3 separate regions of the Homo sapiens genome follow, and all the other regions are linked to region 1. The links are contacts of gene promoters, found by promoter capture Hi-C in blood cells and fetal thymus (Javierre and others, 2016). All regions are on one chromosome and are shown on one strand. Each heading gives the region's core, a stretch centred on a gene start or on the middle of the fragment in contact. The rest is flanking DNA. Distances are from core to core; before and after follow the strand shown. Region 1 holds the start of GTF3A (general transcription factor IIIA). Region 2 overlaps PLUT (PDX1 associated lncRNA, upregulator of transcription). Region 3 overlaps PLUT (PDX1 associated lncRNA, upregulator of transcription).

What was found. The method cuts DNA at HindIII sites, captures the fragments that hold promoters and counts their contacts. A CHiCAGO score of 5 or more calls a contact.
Region 2: a contact is called between a fragment that was not itself captured here and the fragment with the promoter of GTF3A in region 1, in 1 of 17 cell types (megakaryocytes). The highest score is 5.1, in megakaryocytes.
Region 3: a contact is called between a fragment that was not itself captured here and the fragment with the promoter of GTF3A in region 1, in 1 of 17 cell types (total B cells). The highest score is 6.6, in total B cells.

The regions. Positions count from the first base shown.
Region 1 is chr13:27,423,369-27,427,459 of GRCh38, forward strand. GTF3A (general transcription factor IIIA) reads left to right here and starts at 1,251. Exons shown (of 9, transcript NM_002097.3): 1 at 1,251-1,570; 2 at 3,724-3,824. The coding sequence starts at 1,370. RefSeq lists silencers at 1,076-1,345, 1,356-1,415, 1,516-1,595 and enhancers at 1,686-1,755, 2,706-2,925. The HindIII fragment of the contact is 2,756 bases long and covers 1-1,535 here.
Region 2 is chr13:27,838,847-27,842,937 of GRCh38, forward strand. The region is part of intron 2 of PLUT (PDX1 associated lncRNA, upregulator of transcription); the gene reads right to left. Among named protein-coding and RNA genes, the nearest start is that of GSX1, 48 kb to the left of the region's middle. The HindIII fragment of the contact is 7,230 bases long and covers 1-4,091 here.
Region 3 is chr13:27,816,323-27,820,413 of GRCh38, forward strand. PLUT (PDX1 associated lncRNA, upregulator of transcription) reads right to left here. Exons shown (of 5, transcript NR_047484.2): 5 at 2,770-4,091. Among named protein-coding and RNA genes, the nearest start is that of GSX1, 26 kb to the left of the region's middle. The HindIII fragment of the contact is 8,107 bases long and covers 1-4,091 here.

The sequences.
Region 1 (4,091 bases), core at 1-2,500:
GAACTGGCGCAAGAGAAACCATTTTAGAATTCCGGAGTTGTGGGAGGGATGAGTGTAGAATTCTCCCATCCATGGACAGGGGCTAGAGTGGCAAATGAAGAAAGCAACAGGTGGACCCAAGGCATAGACACTCTCACAGCCCCGTTATCTTGAGACGGAGGATGACACAGGCGTTATCAACTTTCCCACTTTCAAGATGAGCAGACTGAGGCAAAGGAGTGTTTATGAACTGGAATACTCAGTTCATAAGCACTGATGTTAAGCCCTGGCTTGTTTCCAGAACTGCACTGCTGTGCAGGGACCTGTTCATCACATTCCGACAAGGGCTTAATGATTCGGAATAATGCAGGATGTGAAAAATATGGATCTGGCGAACATCCCCCAAGTCATCCTGCCAGTTATCTGTATCCAAGGACATTTTTTAGGCATGTGGTCCTCATAAACTAAGATACTCATATTCATTCAGGCCTCTCAAAAGTGCTTCTCAGGTTTTGATATGCACTGAATCACCTGGAGATTTGTTTCAAGTAGGTCATCAAGGCTCTAGGGCAGTGTTCCCAAACTTTTCCTTTTTTTTTTTTTTTTTTTCCAACCACCTGGTCAGTTTGCCGGGGTGGGGAAGGGTAGGATGGGGAGACATCTGTATTTATTCTTTTAGAGCTCGGGGTCTCACTCTGGGCTCAAGCGATTCGCCCGCGTACCTGGGACTACAGGTGCGCACTACTGTGCCAGGATAGTGGTTCCCAAACTTTTCTGCGCATTGAAATCACCTAGGAAGTTTCCAAAAATACTGATGCCTGTTTCCTACCCCCAGAAATTGTGATTTAAGTGGTCCAAGTATCCTCTAGGCTTCGGGATTTTGTAAAGCTCTCCACGTGAATCTGAGCTTAGGAACCTCTGAACTGGGGCTTGCAGCAGAAGCACGTAAAGCACGCAAAGAAACGAAACCACACAGGTCACACTAGTAATGTGGCAACAGGCTAACTTAAATTATGTAAGGCTAGTGCTTTCCAGAGTGTACTGGAGGACGGGAAACAAGCCCCATTTAAGCAGTGCCTCGGGATTTGAGTTGCCTGTGAAACGCAGCAGCCTTCTGCCGAGGACGCAGAAACCCCCGCCTCTCATCCAGGGCTGACAGGGCACGGGCCGCGAGCCGCGGCGGGGCCTCCTGGCGCATGCGCGATCTCCCGGAGCATGCGCAGCAGCGGCGCCGACGCGGGGCGGTGCCTGGTGACCGCGCGCGCTCCCGGAAGTGTGCCGGCGTCGCGCGAAGGTTCAGCAGGGAGCCGTGGGCCGGGCGCGCCGGTTCCCGGCACGTGTCTCGGCACGTGGCAGCGCGCCTGGCCCTGGGCTTGGAGGCGCCGGCGCCCTGGATCCGCCGGCCGTGGTCGCCGAGTCGGTGTCGTCCTTGACCATCGCCGACGCGTTCATTGCAGCCGGCGAGAGCTCAGCTCCGACCCCGCCGCGCCCCGCGCTTCCCAGGAGGTTCATCTGCTCCTTCCCTGACTGCAGCGCCAATTACAGCAAAGCCTGGAAGCTTGACGCGCACCTGTGCAAGCACACGGGGGAGGTGAGGGGGGCGAGGCTGCCAACCCTGGGCCTAGGGATGGCGCGTGGCCCCGGGGTAGCCACTGCAGTCGTGGCCAGGGCCGCAGGCCCCGCTGTGCAGCGCGTTCAGCTTTGACATCCAGGACTTGGGGAAGGAGCTGAGGAAGTAGACAGGAAGTTGTAGGACCTTCGTTCTGCGACCTTGATATCCATGGCAGGGGCTCGGGATTTACTAAGCAGTCATTGATCGTGAGTCTCGGCCAGCCAAGTGCCTCCCGTAATCTGCAAATAAGTGTGAGGTTTGAGGGGGCCCACCGCTACTAGACACCTGCCAAACACTGGCCCCTGGAGCTGGTACAGAAGATGGGTTACATGTACCAGGGGTCGTGAAAGCAGCATGTGCTCATTTCTTCGTAACTCCACACTGGAGAGAGCAGTGAGCAAAACAGGCAAACCCAAGGTTTCTGCTGCCATGGACCTTTGTTCCTGGGTCGAGCCGACCACAGGATAGGTGGGAATGACATGCAGTGTTGTGGTCAGGAAAGGCCTCTCTGTGTGAGCCGTGTAAGAAGGAAGGATCTAGCCATGCAGACATTTGTGCTAGGTAGAGAGAACACAAAGGGAGCCTGTGACCCTTGGGGTGGGAGGCAGGTGGGTGTGTTTGGGTGCGGAGATCACCATATGAGGTCTGAGAAGTAGGCCCATTAGGAGTTTGGATTTTATTTTGAGGGCAGGAGAATGTCAGATACCATGATATGACGTGGCAGCCCATGTCACACACAAGTGAGGAAAACGAGGGTCATGGAGGTCAAGGAATCTGCCCAGCTTCCCAGTTTTTGGCAGAGCTAGGCTTCACACTGCCTCAGCTTAAAGCCCTTAATTTCTTAAACCACTGGGCTGCAGTCCATACCTTTGCCCCTTGCACCTCCTCTAATTTATGGGCCACCTTCTCCAGGTGTCCTCCGGGGCCTCATTCCTTAACCTCTCCAGCACTGGAAGGCCGACCGCTTCTTCCTTGAGACCTTCTCTGGTTCTTTTCCTCTTCCTCGTCTGCCCTTTTCGTTGGATCCTCTTCTGCCCTCTGCATGTTCCACCCCGCCCAGCTCCCTCTTGCGGTCTTACATAGCCACCGGCATGACTCATAACATCCTTTATGCTTTGCCCCTCTGCCCTTCCTCTTGCCCGTTCTAGCCTCTAAATTCTGGGCTCTGTATTACCAGTAGATCCACGTAAGAGCTTGCCTTTCCTTTTAGACCGGTGTGCTGTATTTTGGATACTGGCGCTACCAGTTTCCTTAATACAGGTTGAAAAACTTGGAGTCATCTTTGTTGTCCCAGATCTCTCATGCAGATTAATTTGACAAATGTTTATTGAGCCTACTCCACGCCTGCCGCTGTGCAAGGTTCTGTGGCTCCGCCCCTGGTGGTATGTAGCTCACTGTGTTCCTGTTTGCTTGTTTTGCTCCTAGTACTCTCATGGAGGCCTCGGTGCCTCCCTCCTGGACGCCTTGGTAGTATGCTTTTCATAGTTTGATGCACCAAACTGGTTATTTGGTTATTTGGGGTGTGTGTTTGGCTTTTACTATAGGTTCAAAATGAGTCACCCCCTCCCAACTCCTGGGTTACAAAAGGTGGTTGCATTTAGGGTGTTGAGCTGTTTTCTTTGCTTCGCCCTGGCACCTGTGAGCTTTTTCAGGTGTGACACACTTTCCTATAGCTGTGCTTGGCATTATCCTAGCACAGACCCTGGGCTTGTCTGGGATGAGACAGGCCTCCCTCGTTCCTCTGCCCTAGGCTTGCTTTTTTACATGTTAAATCATGCGGTGGTGGGGATCCATGCAGACAAGCCATGCTAACAGCCAGGGCGTCTTTAAGAGGGGGTTGCTGTGAAAGCCTGCTGCCGGGTTGGGAGCAGGTTAAAAATGCTATGCCTGCTTATTTTAAATGCTGTTCATGGAACAAAAATCTGTGTAGTGACTTTGTGAGAAGTTGTGATGTTTATGTTGTGTAACTTTGTGCAGGAACACTGCGTCTTGCAGTGGGTGCACAGCTCTGAGTAGAAACCACCTCTTCATAGGAAGCCTGTGGCCTTAACACTAGGCAGTTTAAGCTTTTAAATAATACCAGAGTTACTAACTAGTGCAGAAGTGACATGCTTTTTCTTTTTTCCTGCTAGAGACCATTTGTTTGTGACTATGAAGGGTGTGGCAAGGCCTTCATCAGGGACTACCATCTGAGCCGCCACATTCTGACTCACACAGGAGAAAAGCCGTTTGTGTAAGTAGAGACCTGTTTTTAGGCTTTTGAAGTGGGTTGTGTTGGGCATATAGACCCAGTAAGAAGATTGATGTTAACTCACGAGATCAGGAATGTGAAGCCTGGCAGGGCTCGGTGGCTCATGCCTGTAATCCCAGCACTTTGGGAGGCGGAGATGGGCAGATCACTTGAACCCAGGAGTTTGAGACAAACCTGGGCAACATGGTGAAACCCCGTATGTACAAAAATACAAAAATTAGTCAGGGATGGTGGTTTGTGCCTGTAATC
Region 2 (4,091 bases), core at 808-3,307, 420 kb after region 1:
CCCCAACCTCCCAGGTAGCTGCGACTACACAAGCCTGCCACCGCACCTAGCTAATTAAAAAATTTTTTTTTGGTAGAGATGAGGTCTCCCTATATTACCCAGGCTGGTCTTGAACTCCTGGCCTCAAGCAATCCTCCCATCTTGGCCTCCCAAGGTGCTGGGATTACAGTGTGAGCTACTGTGCTCAGCCTACCTTTCTCCTTCTCTTACAAGATTATTTCAGCTATTCTAGATCCTGAGCCTTTCCATATTCATTTTAGCATAAGTTTGTCTATGTCTACAAAAAACCTTGCTAGGTTGCTATAGCATTTTGATTTGCTTCCATCCAACATCCAAAGTATGATTTGGTCAAGAAAGGCTGGGTGCAGTGGCTCACGCCTGTAATCCCAGCACTTTGAGAGGCCGAGGCAGGCGGATCACAAGGTCAGGAGATCGAGACCATCCTGGATAACACGGTGAAACCCCGTCTCTACTAAAAATACAAAAAAATGAGCCGGGTGTGGTGGAGGGCGCCTGTAGTCCCAGCTACTTGGGAGGCTGAGGCAGGAGAATGGCATGAACCCGGGAGGCGGAGCTTGCAGTGAGCCGAGATTGCGCCACTGCACTCCCGCCTGGGTGACAGAGTGAGACTCCTCAAAAATAAAATAAAATAAAATAAAATAAAATAAAATAAAATAAAATAAAATAAAATAAAAAAGTATGATTTGGTCAAGAACATCTACAGGGTATCCTCATTTGACCATGACATATTCAAGGTAGAAAATCCATCTCATTTATCTTTGTAACTGCCAAGCACCCAGCACGATGACATATAATAATAGGTGCTCAATAAATATTTGTTGGGTGAGTGCACAAATGGGTGCCCCAAAATACACTTTCATGCAAAAACAGACAATTTTGCAGTAAACAGACTCCAGCCTTTTATTTTGTTTGCTCTCAGCTCCTTTATACTTTAAGCTCATCTCACTCATTTCTACTAGGTTTCCTTCCGAAAACCCACAGCGGGCCTAGACCATTTTGGTCAAATTTGAGCTGATTGCATCACTTCCATGGACAAAATCTTAGAAAACTACTTATTCTATATACTGAATAAGATTCACATCCCTCTATACTCTTCCCATACACACAGAGAGACAACCTGTGTCATCAGCCAGGAAGGAAATATTTGCTGAGGTCTTAGCCTGTACTAGGGACTGTCAACAATGAAAAGAATGGTAAAATATTATTTCTGCCCTGAAAGAGTTTGAAATGTGAGTTTGTTATTTGAGGACTCTATGACGCATATTCTGTTCATTATATAATTGCTCACCTTTTCACTTCTCTTCAGCTGAGTCATGAATCTTCTTCGTTTCTGTTCCAGTGCTTTAGCTGCAGGGGGCAGTTTCTGGCCTGTGCACTATAGGCCACGGCTGATGCCACGTCATCCCCCAGGATTTTGGGAGAAAAGCCCTCGACTTCTCTCCAACTCTCTCCTTTTTCTCTAGGATGAGGCCAAAATACACATATTTGTTTTCACCTCTTATCCAAGTATATTGAAAGGATTAATGAGAGTGCTTTAAAGCCCTTTGATAAGGCATGGTATATTGCCAAGGTAATCAACGATTATGTTTTCTTATATGAAAGTTAAAATAAGCCACAGGAAGGAGTCTAGCCTTCCACGTTTACCGGCGTTTATTTTTGAACGCTGTTTTCTTTGCCATTCACCATTAGGAAAACAGAGTCTGAGTACTGTGACTTTAAGGGCCTATAAACCTATAAATCTTCCTCCCAGGTCAGGGTAAATAATTCTCCTTTCTACCATAATTGGGGAAGTCAGAAGTGTGCTCAGTGTGTGGCTTGAAAGATTCTTTGCCAAAATTCTACCCCAGTGGACAAGCCTGGGCTTTCATGAGGGGATCTCAACTTTCTCAGCCTCTTGGCAGCTGGCAATGCCGCCTTGAAATGCCTTCCTTTGCTTCCATGACATCCCTGGGGACCCCTTCTCCATATCCTTCAGGGGACCTTCCTCCGCAGCCCAGCCTCTGAATGCTGGTGGCCCCCAGTGCTCGGTCCAGGTCCTCTCCTTCCTCACCCTTCACTCTTCTTGGGTAAGCTCACATGCTCTCATAGCTGTAGAGACCTTTTAGAAGGGGCACATTCTCCTTGTTTCTATGTGGAAACCCTCTCTAGAATATTCCCTCAGCCCCTGGCCTCTTCATTTCACTTACTGGTGGTCTTTAGAGGAAGAATTGGGCAGGCTCCTCTGGGCCCCTCACTCTGCCTCAGAAGTCCATCCACCTACCTGCCCTCTGCCTTCTGCTGTCTGCCCTGGATGAGGGTGAAAGGAAAAGGCTGACTATTGTCCATCTGGGCCAGTGACCGGATGTGCAAGGCCACCTAATTTTGAGGGAAGTATTAACAGGCCCATCTGGACACAAATCTAGGGCCACAGCCTCTGATTGGCTTCATCAGCACGAACGCTGACATTTAATCTCCATCTGCCCACAGCTAGGTTTACCTCTCAGTTGGTTCTACGCTCAGTGGGGATGAAGGGTGCTCTGTTGACCCTCTCCCTTTCCCCCACCCCACACTATCTAGTTATCAGACAAAATGGACTTTGAGAAAAAAAATTACCAAAGAAGGATCTTTTATAAGGATAAAGGCATTAATATACTAAGAAGACAAAGAATCCTATGAGGGTGTGTGTCTTGTAACAGAGCTTAAATATCCCTGAGGAAAAAATTGACAGAAATAATCCACAATCATAGATGAATATGAATATGAATATCTTAGGATAGGGCTGCTAGAAAAAAATCAAGAAAAAGATAGATGGACTGAACAACACTATTAACCACTTTTATATAATTGCTATTTATAGAATCTATATCTACCAGTTACAACTGCAGAATACACATTCTCTTCAAGCACATGTGGTTTGTTGACCAAAATAGACCATATGCTGGACCATAAAACAAGGTTCAATAAATTGAAGAGGATTTATATTTTATAGAGCCTATTCTCTGATTAAAACAGAATTACATAGAAATTAAAAACAATAAGATAAGTAGACACCAAATATTTGGAAATGAAACAATTCACTTCTAGAGAATCAATAGGTCAAAGAAGAAATCATGACGGCAATTAGAAAATACTTGGAACTAAATGATAATGAAAAAGGTAAAAATTTGTGGAATGTAAGCAAACAGTGGTTAGAGAGAAAGTTATACCTTTAAGTGCTTATACTGGGTCAGGTGGTGGGAGGGTGTACAAAAACAGAGACTTAAGAGTCCACAATAAGAAACTAGAAAAAGAAGAGCAAAGTGAGCCCAAAGTAACTAGAAGAAAGGGAATAATAAAGATAAGAGCAGAAAAAGAACACAGAACTGAGAAAATTAGCAAAGAGAATGAAGTTTGACAAGAGTGCCAAGACAATTTAATGAGAAAAATGTCTTTTCAATTAGCTGTGCTGGGACAACTGGATATCCACATGCAAGAGAAAGAAGCTGAGCCACTGCCTCACACCATATACAAAACATAAGCCAAAATGGAGCAGTGTCTTCAAGGTAAATCCATAAAATGCCTAAAAGAAAATATAGGAGTAAATCCTTGGGTCCTTAGGCAATGGCTTCTTAGATATGACACAAAAGTGACAAAAGAAAAAATAGATATATTGGAATTCATCAAAGTTTTAAACTTTTGTGCTTCAAAGGATACCATCAACAAAGTGAAAAGACAACCCACAGAATGGGAGAAAAGATTTGCAAATCATACATCTGATAAGAGACTTGTATCCATAATATATAAAGAACTCTTACAAGGCAACAATAAAAAGACATTTTAGTTTTAAAATGGACAAAAGTTTGAGAAAGATATACAAATGAGCAATAAGCTCCTGAAGAGATGTTCAACATCATGAGTCATTAGGGAAATGCAAACCAACTGCAATGAGATACCACGTCACACCCACTAAGAAAGCTGCAATCAGAAAGTCACATCCTAACAGAGTTAGCAAGGATGTAGAGCGATTGGAACCCTCACACATTGCTGGTAGGATTATAAGATGGTGCTGCTGCCCTGGACAACAGTTTGAAATGTCTTCAAAAAATTAAACA
Region 3 (4,091 bases), core at 733-3,232, 390 kb after region 1:
GCAGTGCACTGCCCTGAGACAAGCAGAAGTGCAATGCATTAATGCAGAAGTGAATGAATGAGTTAGTAAGCAGTTGCAGTCACTCAGCTTCAAAACGTAGTGGTCTGAGCTGTGGCAATGTGAAGTGGGTGGACTTTGAGATCCATTTTGGAGTAAGAACCATCCAGGTCTGGTGCTTGCTTGGACCTGCCCCAAGAATCACTCTGAGAACTCCTCAGTAAGATGGTAGGACCAGGCTGAGCCTTCCTGGGCATTCCTGTGTGATGCAGCTTCTCCCACCCACCTCCTGTACCCTTAAGCACATGAAAGTCATCCCTTCTTCAGAAAACTGGAAAAAGGTTGGAGGACTTTGTTGTTGGAAAATGCCCTTGAGCTCATCTCTTCTCCCAAGCCCTGGTCGTTTTCCAGCTGGGGAAGCAGAAGCCCAGAGAGGTGACATGATTTGGCCAAGGGCTCCCTCCCAGTGCATAGATGGGTGTGGCTGAAACCTCACTTCTTCACTTGCAATCCCTGTGCCATCTCTTCTTAAGGACAGCTTTGTCCAGCCTGGGCAACAAAGTGACCGGCTTTACCAAAAAAATTTTAAAATTAGCTAGGCGTGGTGGCATGAGCCTGTAGTCCCAACTACTTGGGAGGCTGAGGTGGGAGGATCACTTGAGCCCAGGAGGTAGAGACTATAGTGAACCGTGATAGTGTGACTGCACTCCAGTCTGGGCAACAGAGCGAGACCGTGTCTCAAAAAAGAAAAAAAAAAAGACAGCTTTGTCCACAATTTAAAAAACACCCCCCAGGCCAGCCCATGGAGCTGGAGCAAACATTTCAACCAGCTGGGCCAGGGACAGTCCAGTGCCACAATAATAGGTATTCCCTCCTGTGGGAGGGGAGTATCCTAGCTGTGACTTAGCAGGGACCAATGCTCGGCTTTATTGGCCATGGTGGGTGGGATGGCAGGGAGAACTCTGAGAGGAAAGTTGGTAATATTGACAGGAGGGGCAGACAGCTGGGTGGAGAGGGCCGGGGACTGCTCTGTGAGATCAGAGCAGACTTCACCTTCATCTCTCCAGAAGAGGGACCCTCTCACAGAAGCAAGGGGTTGGGATGGAGCAGCAGGAGGCTGGAGTTAGGAAACCACCACTCATTCAGGCATAGAGCATTTGTTCTGAGTGTTCTGTTAGGCAGCTATTCCCCAAGATGCTGGAGAGTCAGATCTGAATAAGATACTGAGAGGGAGACTTCAGGAGACTCCCAGCCTGGAGCAGACAGACAGGTCAAAAGGCCTATGTGATACCCCTAGAACAAAGGCATTCACACCTGGGCCACACAGCCACTGAACCCCAAGGAAGCCGGACAAAGAGGATCGGGGGAAACGTCATGCTAAAAGGAGAGATGAGACGAAAGAAGAGAGAGGAGAGGCTTACAGGGATACAGATACTTTCCAGCATTGCTTTTCTCAGGAGATCTGGAAGGGATCTGTGCACTTTACATTGTTCATTCCATCAACAAGTATTTACTAAACACATAGCATACTCCAGGAACCACGCTAAGCACCAGACAGTATAGTTCTCAGTTCACAGAAAGGAAGAAGCAGCCCTGCACCCTGGCCTCCCAGTGCAGCGATTGCCCAGTATCTCCTGAGGCTTCCACTGTGAAGCCAGTCCTGTCTGAAAAGCTATGGAGCATTTTATTTATATATTTATTTATTTATTTATTTATTTATTTATTTATTTATTTTTGAGACAGAGTCTCACTCTGTTGTCCAGGCTGGAGTGCAATGGTGCAATCTCAGCTCACTGCAACCTCCACCTCCCAGGCTCAAACAATTCTCTTGCCTCAGCCTCCTGAGTCACTGGGATTACAGGCACCTGCCACTATGCCTGGCTTTTTTTTTTTTTTTTTTTTTTTGTATTTTTAATAGAGACAGGGTTTCACCATGTTGGCCAGGCTGGTTTTGAACTCCCGACCTCGAGTAATCCACCTGCCTTGGCCTCTCAAAACTCTGGGATTTCAGGTGTGACCCACCATGCCCAGCAGCTATGGAACACTTAAATAACACAGAGAAAATCACATTACTGCTATCAAGGGGTTTGTAAGCCACAGAGCTTAAGAAATCTTAGAAAAGAAAGGTGGCATGTTAAGGCCCTGGGGAGACCACTGTGGCCCCCAAGGTCACTGTTTATCTGTGATTGCTCTTGCAGGAAAGTTCTCAAGAAACTTGAGTCAACACTTGCTTGTGTTGGTCATGACTCTTTGGGTTACAAGTGGCAGAAGACCAATACAGACTTAAGCATAAAAACGAATTTAACGACTTCAGGCATAGCTGTATCCAGCTGCTCCAATGATGATGTCAGACACTGATATCTCTTAGCTTGTTTTTCTCTGAGTTGTTTCACTGTCAGGCTCTGGGGATGCAGTAACCAGTAAACAGAGTACCCTGGGGGTACATTGAACAAGACAAAAAAAAAAATGCGTGGTCCTCATGGAGCTTGTAATTAGGTTCCTACAACTGGTAGTAAAGGAAGACCACCAGGCTTTCTGGGATTACTTCTTATTAGCTTAACAACTCTAACATGAGGAAAAACTAGCCCCAGTAAAAATGTACTTTATCGGTTCTGCTTTGTTACATGTTACCCCCAAGCTGAACAAAGTGGCAGAGAGGAGCAGTACCTCATTGAGCCTGACCCCAGGTCACCAACCCCTCTGGGATCCAGGAGACCGAGATTGGGCAGGGGTGGGTCCTCAAGTGAAAATTGATGCGATATGGCCAGATATCACAGATATCACTTATTTTATTTATTTATTTATTTTTGAGACAGAGTTTCACTCTTGTTGCCCAGGCTGGAGTGCAATGGCGTGATCTCTGCTCACCACAATTTCTGCCTCGCAGGTTCAAGCGATTCTTCTGCCTCAGCCTCCTGAATAGCTGGGATTACAGGCATCTGCCACCATGCCCAGCTAATTTTGTCTTTTTAGTAGACATGGGATTTCTCCATGTTGGTCAGGCTGGTCTCGAACTCCTGACCTCAGGTGATCCGCCTGCCTTGGCCTCCCAAAGTACTGGGATTACAGGCATGAGCCATTGCACTCAGCCCAGATATCACTTTAAAAAGGGAAAATAACAGACACAATGTCTGGCATAAACCTAGACTGGAAAAAGGCAAAGCTGTATGGTCAACATGAAACATAGGAGAAGGTACTAACAGTCCCAGGGAAGCAGGGAGGGAGGCCACAGGGGAGAAGTCCAGGGACATGAGTTCGCTGTTTCCCAAGGGAAACCAGTGCCTTCAGGCCACTCTGTATGGGAGATCCTGTAGCAGACTCTGGAACTGCAACCAAAGCATGAGTGGGAAGTCAGGCAAATTCAGGTTGATAATTGATTGGTTTCCTTGGGCAAGTACCTTACATCTCCCAGCCAGGTGCTCAGCCATGAAAGCGGGTTAATCGTAGCCATTTCACAGGTTGTTGTAAAAGTTAAATTAGAAAACCTGCCTAAACAAATGCCTGGCCAGGGTCGATGTTCAAAGGTAAGAAGAGTGAGGGGCCGGCAGGGCATCCAGTCCGGCCCCAAGCAGCTTGGAGGTGGCAGGAAAACTGTGTTTGTACATTTCCCCTTATGAACTTCTATCCCAGGATGGAGACAACCTCTTTGAAGAGCAGTGCCTAGAATGGCCTCCCAGGACCACATCTCCATCACAGCTGGAATCTCATCCGTCATCTCTGCAGCAGGGTCAGAAACTGGCTGCGGCAAGCAAGGTTCATTTCACCCTCTTCCTCAGCAAGAGAAGCCCCAGCTGCTTCTTTTCTGGCATTTCCCTGTGCCTACTGGTTGGGATGGCCAGCAGCAGAGTATTTGGCCTCCGACCACCTAGAAAAAGCCATGCCTTGGTTAAGAAGTGCTGCATTTGAGAATATGGACCTTTGTGGTTCCCCGTATCCCTGGGAACCTCCACATTCAGAGAGGCTAAAAGCCCACACCGACCCGAGCCAACAGAATGGGGAGGAAGCAGGTGCAGGGAGTCAGCTTCATCTTCCCCTTCTCTTGATGATGCTCTTCAGCCATTAGGGTTTCAAAAGAGTGGGCGTGAGCAAGCGAG